2 separate regions of the Homo sapiens genome follow, and region 1 is linked to region 2. Evidence: promoter capture Hi-C in human tissues and cell types (Jung and others, 2019). All regions are on one chromosome and are shown on one strand. Each heading gives the region's core, a stretch centred on a gene start or on the middle of the fragment in contact. The rest is flanking DNA. Distances are from core to core; before and after follow the strand shown. Region 1 overlaps LRRC7 (leucine rich repeat containing 7). Region 2 holds the start of LRRC7 (leucine rich repeat containing 7).

Region 1 (6,876 bases), core at 2,950-5,449, 150 kb after region 2:
ATCTTGGTTTTGTTTCCTGAAATTTAATTAAAATGTAGTAAAGTGGATAAAATGCTTGGAATGTCTAAGGCAGTGACCCATCAGAAGCCCTTTATGAACCCCTAGATTGTACTGAGTGGCCCTCTTCCGGATTCCTATGATACAATGTGTACACATCCAAAATAGCACTTCTCAGATTATATTTAAATCTGTTTTAGATCCCTGCCCCTCAAAGATAAGCTCTTCTGCAGGGCTTATTCATATTGCATCCCAGAGCCCACGCTGACTAGATAACCAGAACTTAGTCTCAGTTTGGAACTCTCTTTTCCCTTTTAGTTTATGAAGACATTTATATATAGACTTTAAAGACCTGCTTTTAAATTCAAGTGACTCCTAGGGCTTACTGCAAAAACGTTCTTTGCTCCACCCAGATCTCACAAGTCCAGTGTTGAGTGTATGGCCTCATGCTTTCTGGAAAGCCCTCCAACTCTGATTCTTACAGGCTGAGCAGCTGTAAGATGTAACAACAAATCCTAATGAATCTCTGAAGATATTGGTGACCTTCAAAATATAGTAAATTCTCCCTTGCTGAGGATGGCTGTGGTGTAATTTTTCCTAAAATGATAAACTGAGTGTGGCTGTTTAAAATTTCTGTCAAACCTGTAATTCAATCTAAATATGCTCTCTATCACAATTCTTGCTTGGAGTAATGCTTATCACATTTCTTTGATATGCAGTGCCTGTACTTCAACAGCTCCTAGCACATTGTTGGCACTAAATAATCAATGACTGTTAGTGATCATGTCACAAAACACTAGAGAACATTGACCATGAGACTGAGTTAAAGTTCTTAGCCAATTCAATATCTGTTTCAAAGCATCCTTGACATTTCAAATCCCCTGAATTTTTCATTTACTCAGTAATTGAAAACCTAAATCTAGAACTGTGGTATTATCACAAGTGCCCACTGCACCCTCTGGATTCAAAAGGTTAATTTTAATGAACTTTTAAACACTTGCATTAGGCAATTTCATTTAAATATAATTGAAATGTGAAGCTGGGTAGTTGTAGTGCTTGGCATTCAAATCTGGCCTATTTACCGTGTCGTCATGGCTCAAGTGCTGTAGCAACACTTGATAAATATTACAGTGTCTAGAGTCATAAACACTGATTATAAGCATAACTGAACAAGGTCTTTGCCCCTGGGAAACCATGTTTTAAGTAGGAGCTTATACCCTAAGGACTTTTAACCGTACTTTCCACTTTTGAGTAGCATGTCGGAGGCAGGTCAAACTGGAGTCAAATGCAGCTTGGGCCACAGAAAGATGTAGAAAGTTCAGGAAGTATATGCTGGTGAGAATTAGCATGTACCTAATATGCACAATGAGTGGGGATCTTGTGTCATCATTTACATATAATCAAAGCACTGCATGAGGAGATTGTATTTCAAAAATTTTGACTAAAAATCTAGAAACCAGAAATGCCACTAAAAAGAGTTATGGCCCAAAGCAAGGAGCCTTTCAAAAGGCTTTCAAACAATACTTTCATATATAAGTTATCTCATAAAGTCGTTTAAAATAGACTTTAACCTGGAGGCTCAGTCACTTAGCCAAGTGTACCCCCAACCAATGAGGACAGTGGTAGCACTGAGAAAAAGAACACACACACACACACACACACACACGTGCACACGCGCAAGTGCTTTAAAATTTAATTTTCTAAAGTATTTTATTTAGGAAAAAAAGGGCCAGGTGCAGTGGCTACGCCTGTAATCCCAGCACTCTGGGAGGCCGAGTCAGGCAGATCACCTGAGGTCAGGAGTTTGAGACCAGCCTGGCCAACATGGCGAAACCCTATCTCTACTAAAAATAGAAAAATTAGCCAGGCTTGGTGGTGGGCGCCTGTAATCCAAGCTATTCAGGAGGCAGAGGCAGGGAGAATTGCTTGAACCCAGGAGGCAGCGGTTGCAGTGAGCCAAGATTGCGCCATTGCACTCCAGCCTGGGCGACAGAGCGAGACTCCATCTCACAAAACAAACAAACCAACAACAAAAAAAGAACCATTAGGGCTAGTATTCTGGTCTCTATTATAACAAAAAGTTATTTTTATTTTTTCTTTCAGCATTAAAAATGTAGTATCACTAGTGACTAAGTGCATTTGGTCTCTTATAAAAGAATAATAAAATACTGTGTTTAAAAGTATGTGTGCTTTGCTGGCTTTATTTCTCTTGTATGAAGGAGTGGGGTGATGATGTCCATATTGCATTAGCCATGGAAAGGCCCAGTTTCAGCTATCTGCAAGGGAAAAAAGCAAGTCTATGCATACTTTAAATAATAACTGCTGCCTATGTAACACAAAGATCTGTTGTTCTAAATTTAGCCACATATTCCCTCCAGTGTATTGAATGGCGAATCTCCCTGAACGTGGAGGGGCACGTTTTGTTTTCAACAAAATGACAAGATTACAGACAACAAGAATGTAATAGTTTATTTTTAAGATATCACTTTCATGGATACTGTAATAATATATTTTAGGCATATAATTTTACCTATTGTAATAAAAAATAATAATAACAAATACCCTTCTTCTAAGGAGAGTGTTTGCTCTTAAGAAGAACTTATTTTAAGGCCAGGCACGGTGGTTCATACCTGTAATCCCAGCACTTTGGGGGGCCAAAGCAGGAGGCTCACTTGAGCCTAGGAGTTCCAGATCAGCCCAGGAAGCATAGTGAGACTTGGTCTCTCAAAAAAAAATGTATATATATATATTTAGACAGGTGTGGTGACCTTCACCTGTAACGTCATCTACTCTGGAGGCCGAGGTTGGAGGATCACTTGAGCCTGGGAGGTCAAGGCCACCAGTGAGCCGTGATTGTGCCACTGCACCCCAGCCTGGATGACAAAGCGAGACCCTGTCTCAAAAACAAACAGAAAGAGCTTATTTTACTTTTTTTTTTAACTATGAGATGTTAAGTTTGATGATTACTGCCATTTTACAGAAAAAGAAATTAAATTATCTGATTCCTGTTTTCTAAGTTGTAGGCCTATGCTACATCAAATGGTATTTAATCAGACTGTTGAATGACTGTTTCCTTAATGTCCAGCTACGTTTATGATCATTTCAGCTAAACCTTAGTTACTTGAATTACACAGAGTTGGAATCTGCATGGCATCTCGTATGAAACTGATCAAAGGGTTTGAATTCTGGGGAATAGAGATAATTGTTTAACATTAATACAGACTTTTGCCCCAAATAAGAATTTCCAGTCACAAAATGTTAATCACAATGGCTGAATGCTTGTGTATCAGACACCTAAGAGCTTTGCTTAGAAAATTTACCCAGTAATCTTGCTAATTCCTGGGACTCTCTTCTTCTCTCTCTTCTTATTCTGTCTCTTATTAATCCCAAAGCTAAACTCATCCAGCACCCTCATAACAAATATTTTGTACAATTTGCAAAAAGAGTCATATGCAGAGAGGTATGTTATATGGACTGGCCACAGCCTTACACCAATTCACCTTGCTCTCCAGGCCTTCCCTCTTCCCGGAATGAGATTCTCCTTCTGCCACTCCCAGACACACTCAACTCCCCTGAGTTACTTCTTCTACACCAAGAAGACATACTGAGGAATTTTTCCAACAATATCTAGTCTCCCTCTAGGAGGAAATTTCTTACCAACAAAAATTTGTCCAGTTTAATACATAAGCAATATTTATCAAATTTTTAAAAGTATGAAGTGCTTATACTCTACAATATACCATCCCTGAAATTTGTTGAAATGCAAAGATAAATCATGGAGGAAAGCAGCTTATGAAAAAGTTACAGTTTAGTCATTTGATGTGATGAAACATAAATAATTAGAATCTATTGAAAAGTGTTATGAGAGGAAATGAGAAATGGCAATTTAGAGGACAGTGAAATATTACATACAATTGAAAGGAATCAGGAAAGGCTTCCTGGAAGAGGAAGCTCATTATCTGGACTTTGATGAGAGTGATGAAACCACAGGCAGAAATCAGTAGAAGGGCAGTCCTAGCGGGAGGAACAACATGAACAAAGATGTAGTGGGGGCCAGGATGGGGAAGATTCCACCAGGTGTTTCAGTCTTCCTGGTTCATAAAGTATGTATTGAAAAACTGTTGTGGGTAAAGTCAGGGGCAGAGAATCACTTTTTAACTTGAATAGCAAGATTAGGAATCTGATGTTTTTTTTAATTCTGTGAACAGTGGCAAGACCAGGAGGAGCATTTTTATCACGTTAAAACCGTAATTTCTATCTCACTTTAATAATGCATTTATTATCAGGAAATTATGTCTGCCTAAACACATCATTTGCTAAGCTTTATTGATTCTAAGACTATGCATTTTGTGCAAATAAAGAATTGTATCAATTAAACATAATCTTCAGCATTTTATGTGCTATTTATATATTGTCACCCTAGCTTTTATTTTCCAAAATATCCTTTAGAGTTCCAAATTCAAGAAAAGATTTTAGTATCTAAGTCATACTGTGTAAAATTGGCTTGTTTAAGTAGATCTTGAAGTTTGCGGCCTTTTGATTTCCTTTTTTAAATTTTTAATAGAACCATTGCACTAAGTAATAATGATAATCAATCCTCCCTTTAAGACTTTTAAGACATACCAGGCCCTGCCTGACTCTGGACATGAACTAGGTACTTCTCTGTCCCACTGATAAATGGAAATTCTCTATAGTCCTGACTTATACATTTAATGATTATATAGAGAGTCTTGGGTTTTACAGATATAGATATAAAGGCTCTATATTGAGTATTCAAATTAATAAATTTAAAGTACATTTTCTTTTTTATTTCCCATATCAACCATGGGATAATAAATGTATAGAATACAAATTGCAACACCAAGTTAATATGTTTATCTCCATCAGTCTCATGCAAGTCACTTTTCTAAAATACACTTAATTACAAATGCATTTGGGGATTTTGGGCTCAATTATTTTAGTTATAATGTACTGAATACATTAAGCTATGACTATATGCACATATAATAACTAACCAATGTCAAAGCATTTAGTTTTGTTTTAATGATCACTGGGAATAACCAAATCAGTGTTTAAGGTATAATAGCAAGATATAAAATTTTATCGATTCAGAATAATTAGAGGAGAAGGCAACTCTAACCTGTATGAATCTAAATTATAAAATATTTTTTAAATTTTTTTATAAATTCAAGATAAGGAAAAATACATTTTACATTTATTATTTAGTTATTAGAAATAAAATAGGCAAGAAGGAAAAGCACTGTACAAAGCATTTTTGCTTATAGGTACCAAAATGTTGCATTAAGGAAGAATGTTGGACAACAGTATCATCCTTTTATTCCACCCTGGATTTATATACCCACAGCTCTAATGTTTAGTGGCAGTGTTTGTGGAATTATTCTTATAGGATATGTAACCTGACAATTAGGGAAGCATCTGATTAAGCTCTTCACATTCCATTCTTGCTTATTATGTTCATTTAGATGCATTTGTCAATTTATAATTGCAGTTAATTGAAATTTTTTAAATTTTCTTTTTTTTTAAAGGAGCCCGCTACATGAAAAAAAATGCAAGTCAAAGTGGTCACAACCTAGAAGTCTGCAGAGACAGGAATAACTAGCAAGTAGATACTATATTATTTTACTATGCTTAAGTATATAGAATTCAGTAGTGTTATGGGAATTTTACACTATAATTACCAAATAGTCTTGTAATTTTAAATTTATACTTAGCAGTTTTCATGTTAACCTATATCACATCACAAAAATAATTAGGAAGAAACATGGTAACTATGAATCTCAGGAAACTCATTTTCTGTCAGTAATAATGAAATTACTTTTATAAGAAACATGAATTTAAATACTGTATCCTCTCTCAGGTCTTATTTTTAGAGCCCCTAATTCAATACTTATTCCTTCATAAAAAGAGTAAATGAATCTGCCTATGTCTTGTGACATATTTATCCACTATGTAAATGCATTGATTCCTCTCATAAGCCATTCATAAATATTATTTTATAATAATGCTTCTAAGAAATAAAGTGAAATTATATTCTTTTTTGAAGGTTACATTTCAAAAATTCAAGGTGATATCAAATGAAATCCAGGCACAAAGCGGGAGCTTTGCATTTATCAGTATTTCCTGACATTTTCAAGAAATGAAATAGGAGGTTCAATGATGAAAGCATGCAATGTTTAGATAAATGGATAAAAAATGAACTTAAGAATGTGGAAAGAGTAAATAAGATTATTTGAATAGCAAGAAGAATCTTTGAAAATCTCATTGCTCCATATTAAAGTGGTCAGAGTTGATTCTTTATCCACAAATGTATCTCGAAAATTGTAATAAAATCAGAAAATACTAAAGCTAAAAGGATTTTAGAAAGTATTTACATAAATATTTCATTGGTATGGGGAAGGGAACTAAGTTTGCAAATAAAAACTGATTTTACATATATATCTACATATATACATATATACATACTTTTTTTTCAAGATAGAACTTAATACAGCTAGTTCTTAATTTAATAGGACTTATTCAATAGTAATGATTAAAATATACATGCAAACAAAAATGTATACAAAATGATGGTAGTATCCATAATCAAAATTTTATGCATAAATGTTTTATATTTAAAATTTTATAGTAGTAGATATTTCTATAACCACAGAAAATGTGTAAAATTGTGTTTCAATTGCTTAGCAGTACAGATTCAAAAAAAATTATATAAACCAACAGACATTTCCTCCTTTTCAATCTTCTTTGATGGCTTTATGAATGACAGGTCATGAATGATAAATACTTCACAGATAAATCTATCATATATTTATACAATTGGAACCACACATTTTGATAAGAAGAATACTAAGCAAGGACTCA
Region 2 (6,915 bases), core at 1,987-4,486:
GAGTAATTGCCAAAGGGGATATCTTTTACGACAAGTGTAGCATTTCAGGCATCCAAAGGGAAATATTCAAAGATATTTGACATCTTATTGTTTAATATCGCCATGAGTTTTATTTTCAAATAAGGTTAGTCTTGCTTATCCTAAGAAGCATTATCATTTCAAAGATTTTAGCAGTGTGGGTCAAAGAAATTGATTAACAACTTGCAAAATTTTATAGCCTTAATGTCTAAACATTTATAGATGTAATAGGAACATCAAATCTGTTAAAACTGCCTTGATCTAATTTGTAAAATGGTGATAGTTTTTAGTGTTGGGCCTCTGCTTGAACAACATCCAAAGTATATTTAGCATTTATCTTTCTCCAATTTTTAGACAGTCATCTGCATTTCCAGAGGGTTGATGACAGGGCAGCTTGAAGTTTAAAGACAGCACCTGCATTTGCATTTCAATAGTTCCATAATTCTATGAAACCACTGAAATCTCTTCAATGTCTCATTGTTTAAATAGTAAAGGTGGCCAGATTTTGTTCAAGATTCATAATCTTACAAAAATATGGAGCCGTTGTATTCAAAGCTTATTCTAAAGAGAATACCTTCTCTTTACACCTTATAATCCTGTTTGTTAAAACCCATAACAATTAGGTGGACATCTGAACATATTTAAAGTATTTTATCCATTGGATTTTTATGGTCCAAAATCAAGATTCTAGGACAAGATAAATGGGAAAGGAGGACATGTAGTTTGAAATGTGTTATATCAGCACCATCAATTTTTAATTCGGGGTTCCAAAATTATCTTTTTCTCCATTGGAAAGGAATACGTTTGTTTCCACGTAGGAAACTACTTCCACTTAACACACAGAAGGTAACTTCATTGGTAGGTATGCTGCCTGTATGCAAGGATCTGCAGTTACTCATAACTGGCTGTGTTTTTAAACAGAATAATTTTTGTCAAATATTTTGATACAAAACAATGAAGCCTGAAGTTAAAATAAGAAATTCTGGGCTCAAGTGCAGGGCAACTGGACACCCTTATGAGATGAGCCTTTGTGCCCTTCCTGTAAGTGTGGATTAGATTATCCACCACCTAGATTTAAGAAAGGATTAAATGAAAGAATATATGTGAAAGTACTGTGTTGACTGTATTAAAAAGAACTGGAAACCCATAAAGGACCGCTATAATTGTGTAATTGTTGCGCCAGGTTATTTTGTCAATACATTTTTAATCAGCACCTAAAATATTTCATGTCACTTCATCCAGCAGAGACATTGAGATGTGGCAAAATGTTTAAAAGGACAACACTATAGGTGAAAAAAAAACAGAGCACAACAGTAGTCAATTCAAAAAAAATTCTTTTAACAATTTTATTCCATTTCCTTGCCATTTTCAGAGCCCTTTCTTTTGGTGTTTTGTAACAATATAAAAAACGATCTGGCTTTTCAAAATATACTCCTTTTCCTTTCTATATGCAAATGATATGAAACACTGGCAAGTTGTCCTTAAAAGTCAGCCCACCTTCATGGCCCAGATAAAGTGGGCAATAATTCCTCTCTAGGTCCTCCGCACATTAGGTGCCAGTCTCTCAAGTCTCTTCCTAGACAATTTCTAGCAGCCAGGAAACATAATTTTTGACCTTGAAGACTTTAGCATTCCAAATCTAAGAATACAATCAGGTGTGTTTTCTTTTGGCAAACTGTGAGCTTACACACACCCCCAGAGTGGCATTTGAATGCTGTGCACAGTCTTGACTGTGTTCGAGGTTAGAGAACTAAAGACAAGATTCTTTCTCTCTTGTAATGAAGAAACAAAAACCACATAGCCTATATTCCACAAAAGAATACCAGCATAATATATCCTTTTTTAAAGATGTAATTCATTAGATGTGTGTAGAGAATAAAAGTGTAAATATAGGCTGGGAACGGTGGCTCACGTCTATAATCCCAGCATTTTGGGAGGCCGAGACAGGTGGATCACCTGAGGTCAGGAATTCGAGACCAGCCTGGGCAACATGGTGAAACCCCCGTCTCTACTAAAAATACAAAAAAAATCATCCGGGCGTGGTGGCACGCGCCTGTAATCCCAGCTACTCGGGAGGCTGAGGCAGGAAGATCGCTTGAACCGGGGAGGAAGAGGTTGCAGTGAGCCGAGATCGCGCCATTGTACTCCAGCCTGGTCAACAAGAGCGAAACTCCGTTTCAAAAAAAAAAAAAAAAAGTGTAAATATAGTACTAGCTTCATTGATATGTCTTGCTGCTTCTGGGACTTTAGAGAAGCGTATAAGAAGAAAGTGTGTGTGCCTTTACGTAAGGGAGCATATGAGAGAGAGAGAGAGAGTGTGTGTGTGTGTGTGTGTGTGTGTGTGTGTGTGTGTGTGTGTCAGAGAGAATGTTCATGGCAGGAGGAGGGGCGGTGAATATATGAAGGGAAGTTGGGAAAACCCTTCCCTTTTTGTGCACTCCCAGGGCAGCAGCCGCAACCCCAGAATGAGGAGAGGACTTAAGAGCAGGCACAAGGTTCGCTGCCATGACTGATGTGAAGCGACCTGACGCACAAGCGGAGACTTTTCTCCTTGGCAGCCAACAACCTGCAGCAGGCAAGGCGGGCGGGGGAGGAAACCCCGAGGAGGCGCTCCCGGCCGCCTCTTTGCTGAGATAGCAGGAGCAGCAGCCTGAGGAGCCACGAGCTCAGCGTCACTGAGCTAGTGCGGGTGCAGGGGCGCTCAGGCAGGCGCACAGGCCGGGAGCCGCTTCTGCCGCTCAGGCGGCCGCGCTGCAGAAAGCCGCGCCGCGCTGCCCGAGCGCCCGGGGCTGGCCCGCGAGCGGGAGGAGCCGGCAGCCGCGCTCCGCCCCGCGCTGAGATTCGTGCCACCTGCCTCGAACACCACGGAGGCGAGAGGAACCCAGAGAGCTCGGCCTCTCGTCCCGTTCTCGAAAAGCAGCCTATCGTGACGGAGCCGGGAGAAGGCTAGCGTTTCAATCCTGTGCAGGACTGGGATTTTTCTTCTCATAATTTGGGGGAGCCGGAGTAGAGGTCAGAGGGACAGGCGAGGATCTCAAAAAGAGACCGAGGGTTGTGAACATGGTTACCCCCTCCTATCATTGGAAAATCTCCTTGACATTTTTCACACTTTGAAGCAGCTGCAGCTGGTGTCGTCGGAAAAGGGGGTGGGAAAAAAGAGAGGGGGCGGGGAGAGCGGTGAGACACAGCCAAGAGCCATGAGCGGCGCCTCCTCGCCTGCCAATCCTGGCACCTGTGCGCCGAGCCACTGCACCGAGGAGGACCCTACTCCGGGTGAACACCGGGCTTGAAGCCACGGACACCCAGCCCCAGTGCAGCGGGTTCTCGCCGGCGGGACCTGCAGCCGCCCACTCGGGCCACCGCCACCGCCTCCTGCAGTTGCGGAGCGCTCAGCCCCTCCGAGACGCCCGCTGCGCCCTGGCCCCTGGGGATCCTCGCCCTGCACAGGCGCGGCAACGGGCAGGGGTTGTTACGGAGTTGGGTGCAGGATTCGCCTTTCCTGCTTGTCTCTTCTCCGCCCAGGATTTATTGTCTGTGGAGCCTTCTGGGGGCGGGGAGGGAGCTGCGCCTCCGCCACCGCCGCCGCCGCCGCCGCTGCTGCTGCGGTCGCTAGCGCGGCGCGCTGGGCAGGCTGAGGCTGGGGAGTGGACGCGCTCCTGCCTCCCCCGCCGGCGCTTCGGGCTTCCCCTCAGCCGCTTCCCGCGGGAACCTCTCCAGCCGTCCACCTGAAGGGCACTGGCATCATGGTCTAACGTGGCACCTTCCTGGATTCCCCTCTATCTCCTGTTCTTCCTACCTTCTACTCCTTCCCTCCTCTTCTCCTCCGAAGACCCTGGCGCCCACTCCACTGCGGACCCCTGAACACTTAAGGAATAACCCTTGGCAGCTGCACGACTACGCTCTCCGAAACCTCATGGGCAGTTTCTCCCGCCGGCGATGTGAGTAAGGCACGCTCGCTCCGTGGCGGAGGGTGCTGCGGGGGCCCGGCCGCGGCGACCGTAGGCGCGCGAGGTGTGGGACCCCAGAGGCCGGCCGGGGGCGGGGGTGGCAGGGCGGGAGGCTTCGGCGCTCGCGGGGAGCTGCTTGTGCGGTGGCCGAGGGAGGCGGCGAAGATGTGGTAGGTTGCAGAGCATTTGGAAATGGGGTGCTAACTGGGCGGGTGCATGGGAGCACCGAGTAGCTTGAGCTGGCAAGAGACCTTAAAGGGTTACATACTGCGAAAAGGAAAGGTAAATGTTGGGCGCTGGTGCTGGGACCATTGGTTCCGCTGAAATTAGGTTTAGCTCCTCGTTATTATCTTGGGTATCTCCAGTCAGCTTTTTTCCCAGAGGTGTCTGAGGGATGAAGCGCGTGTTTGATCGTGACACACACACACACACACTCACACACACTTGTGGCAGGACGCACTTGTCTCTTTATCTTGGAAGGTGTTGTATCAATGTCTCGATGTCTGTTTGAAAAAATACAATTAGAAGATTTTTATGTGATTGGGATTGAAGGGAAAGGGTGGGGTTTGGGGGGATGGAGGGGACGAAGGAACATGAAAGACTGGAGGACGGAAAGAAGTGGGGGAGCGTGTTCCCTGGGAGTCAGGGAGAACCTTGCCTCCCTCCCTGTCAGCTAGACAACTCCTGCCCACACATCTCCTTTGTGTGGCACGAGAAGCTGGTGAACCTGCCTATTCCCAATCCAGCGCTGGGTCCCCTTGAGGATCTTGCGTCCTCCTCTCCGAGTTATTAAGGATGCAGGACGTGTTTCGGATTCGACGTGGAAAGAGGGAGGGAAGCACATTAGCATTAAGGTAATCATGGCACCCTGGCTCGTGGACTATTAGATTGGCTACCAGTGGTCTCTAATCTTACTGTTTGCAGAGTCAAGAATGGGGGCGGGGGTTGGGGGACTGTATAGATTGCCTTTTAAAATAGTGTGACTTCATAATAACGGAGATGGCTGAAAGATTGCTTCCTTACACTACTTCTCGGCCATCAGGGCTGAATAAAGGACCCGCCTCCGCCCTCTACTCCGGCTCTTCTCTGGCTGTCTCTTCCCCATCAAGTCATAAAGCGAGCGGGTTGGGCGAGAGGGCACAGCTCGAGGCAGAGAAGAGACGGGGTCACTTTCACAACTCCCAGGAATCGGCTTCAGAAAGGAACCATCTGCGACTCCCACGTTCCTTTCGAAGTTCTCCTTCAAAAGGAATTACAAAAAAAAAAAAAAAAAAAAAAGCGATGGGGGTGGGGATCGGTAAGACACAGGGGTCCTCCCCCTGCTCTTTTCAATTACTTTCCCAATACTCTTTCAACACATCGAATTTACCTGCAGTGGTAACTGGGTCAGCAGGTAAATAGATTTGTATCTGTATATGTCGAAATGTGGCTCTCCTGGTGGATGAAAAGCAATTTTTTGTGAGCATATTCTAACCTAGGCGAAATTTCTAAGCACAATAGAGATTTTTATAGCGTGGGCGAGAAGAGTGCATTCCAGCGAAAGCAGGACACGTGATCCCTCCAACGGGTGAGATACAGTATTAGGAACTCGATTTTCTTTGTTCCAGCCTGAGCCTATGAGATGTTCAGCATCCTGGTTGCTTAAGTCCTCCTATAGAAGGAAAATAATAATAATAATAATAATAAAGTTGATCGGAGGCGAAATAGAGGGAAAATAAGCACAGGTAGACATGCGTGAACGGTTTGAAAGCTTCGCCTCTGCCTTTTTTTACCGCCCACCCTTCACCCCCACCCCTTGCTCCAGCCAGCCCCCTATTTTAAAATGAGGCATTTCCTCTGGGAGACGGTGGAAAAGTTCTCCAGCCCCTGCACACGTGGGTTCTCCAGCACTTCAGAACCTGCTGTGATTCGCAACAGATTACACCACCTTCCCAGTCCAAGTGTCACGCCTCCGTCCAGGCTTCCTTGAATTGGCTTCCAGGAAGGACTCTAAGGGAACTACCACGAGGTGTTTTTTGTTTGTTTGTTGTTTTTTGTTTGTTTGTTTTTACAAAAGACAGTAAAGCAATGAAGTCTTTACTTTTTAGAAATCATTGATTGCACAGGGGGAAAAATGAGCAAATAGGGATGTAGGAATGATTTTATGTTTCCTTAAGAGTCATATGGCTAAAGTATATTGGGGGTGTGTTTAGTGATTGAGTTTGGACTTCTGAGGTGTCTCAGGCCTGTGGAAAATGTCCTGAGGTCAGAATATTTATTAATTTAGTGGAGATATAACTTGTTTATGACCCAACATTTAGAGTTACCTGACTTGGAGATTTCTTATTTCATTTTCACTTAATGTTTTATAATCCATCTTAGTAGGCTAAAGTTTTTAAAAGGTGGTTTATTTATGTGTTATGCTGCATTGCATCATACTAATATGTAATGATAAGAAAAACAGTCAATTTTCATGACTTATTATGAGGTGAGAGTTCTTTATACATTTTTAAGAAAAAACTGACTATCCAAGAAAAAATGTGTACTTACCATGGCCAACACATAAATTCTACATCACTTGTGTCTGCACATATGCAGCTTAGAATTAGAAACAACTTCATAAAGAAACCTGGTCCAGTTGCAGTAGCCATGTTTTATTCAGAATTTTAGTGCAGCTTTAGGCTGTCATTAACATTTTCCCAATTAAATTCTTATTCCACTTTCTTTTTTAAGCTTTTAATTTTTCTAATTCCCTTATAAAATACAGAACATAAGCTTAAAGTGTTTTTGTGCATCTGCATTTTTGTTTTCTTTGGATTTCAAAAAATCACGAAGATATAAATTAATATGAATGTTATTGCTTATGAAAGTAATAAACTATATTATCTATATGATGTTCATTCCAGTGGTACTTGTAGATCTCTCTTATTTCAGCATATAGTACATGATTAAATATTTGATACAAAAACTT

What was found. Contacts are between HindIII fragments. The study calls those that stand out against the background at their distance.
Region 1: a fragment that was not itself captured here is called in contact with the fragment with the promoter of LRRC7 in region 2 in 1 of the 25 tissues and cell types used here (dorsolateral prefrontal cortex).

Annotation. Positions count from the first base shown.
Region 1 is chr1:69,710,599-69,717,474 of GRCh38, forward strand. The region is part of intron 2 of LRRC7 (leucine rich repeat containing 7); the gene reads left to right. Among named protein-coding and RNA genes, the nearest start is that of LRRC7, 150 kb to the left of the region's middle. The HindIII fragment of the contact is 4,175 bases long and covers 2,113-6,287 here.
Region 2 is chr1:69,564,686-69,571,600 of GRCh38, forward strand. It overlaps LRRC7 (leucine rich repeat containing 7), which reads left to right and starts at 3,237. Exons shown (of 27, transcript NM_001370785.2): 1 at 3,237-3,956. The coding sequence starts at 3,955. It overlaps LOC105378789 (a long non-coding RNA gene), which reads left to right. Exons shown (of 12, transcript XR_947488.3): 12 at 1-1,165. RefSeq lists a silencer at 2,661-2,890. The HindIII fragment of the contact is 6,759 bases long and covers 1-6,196 here.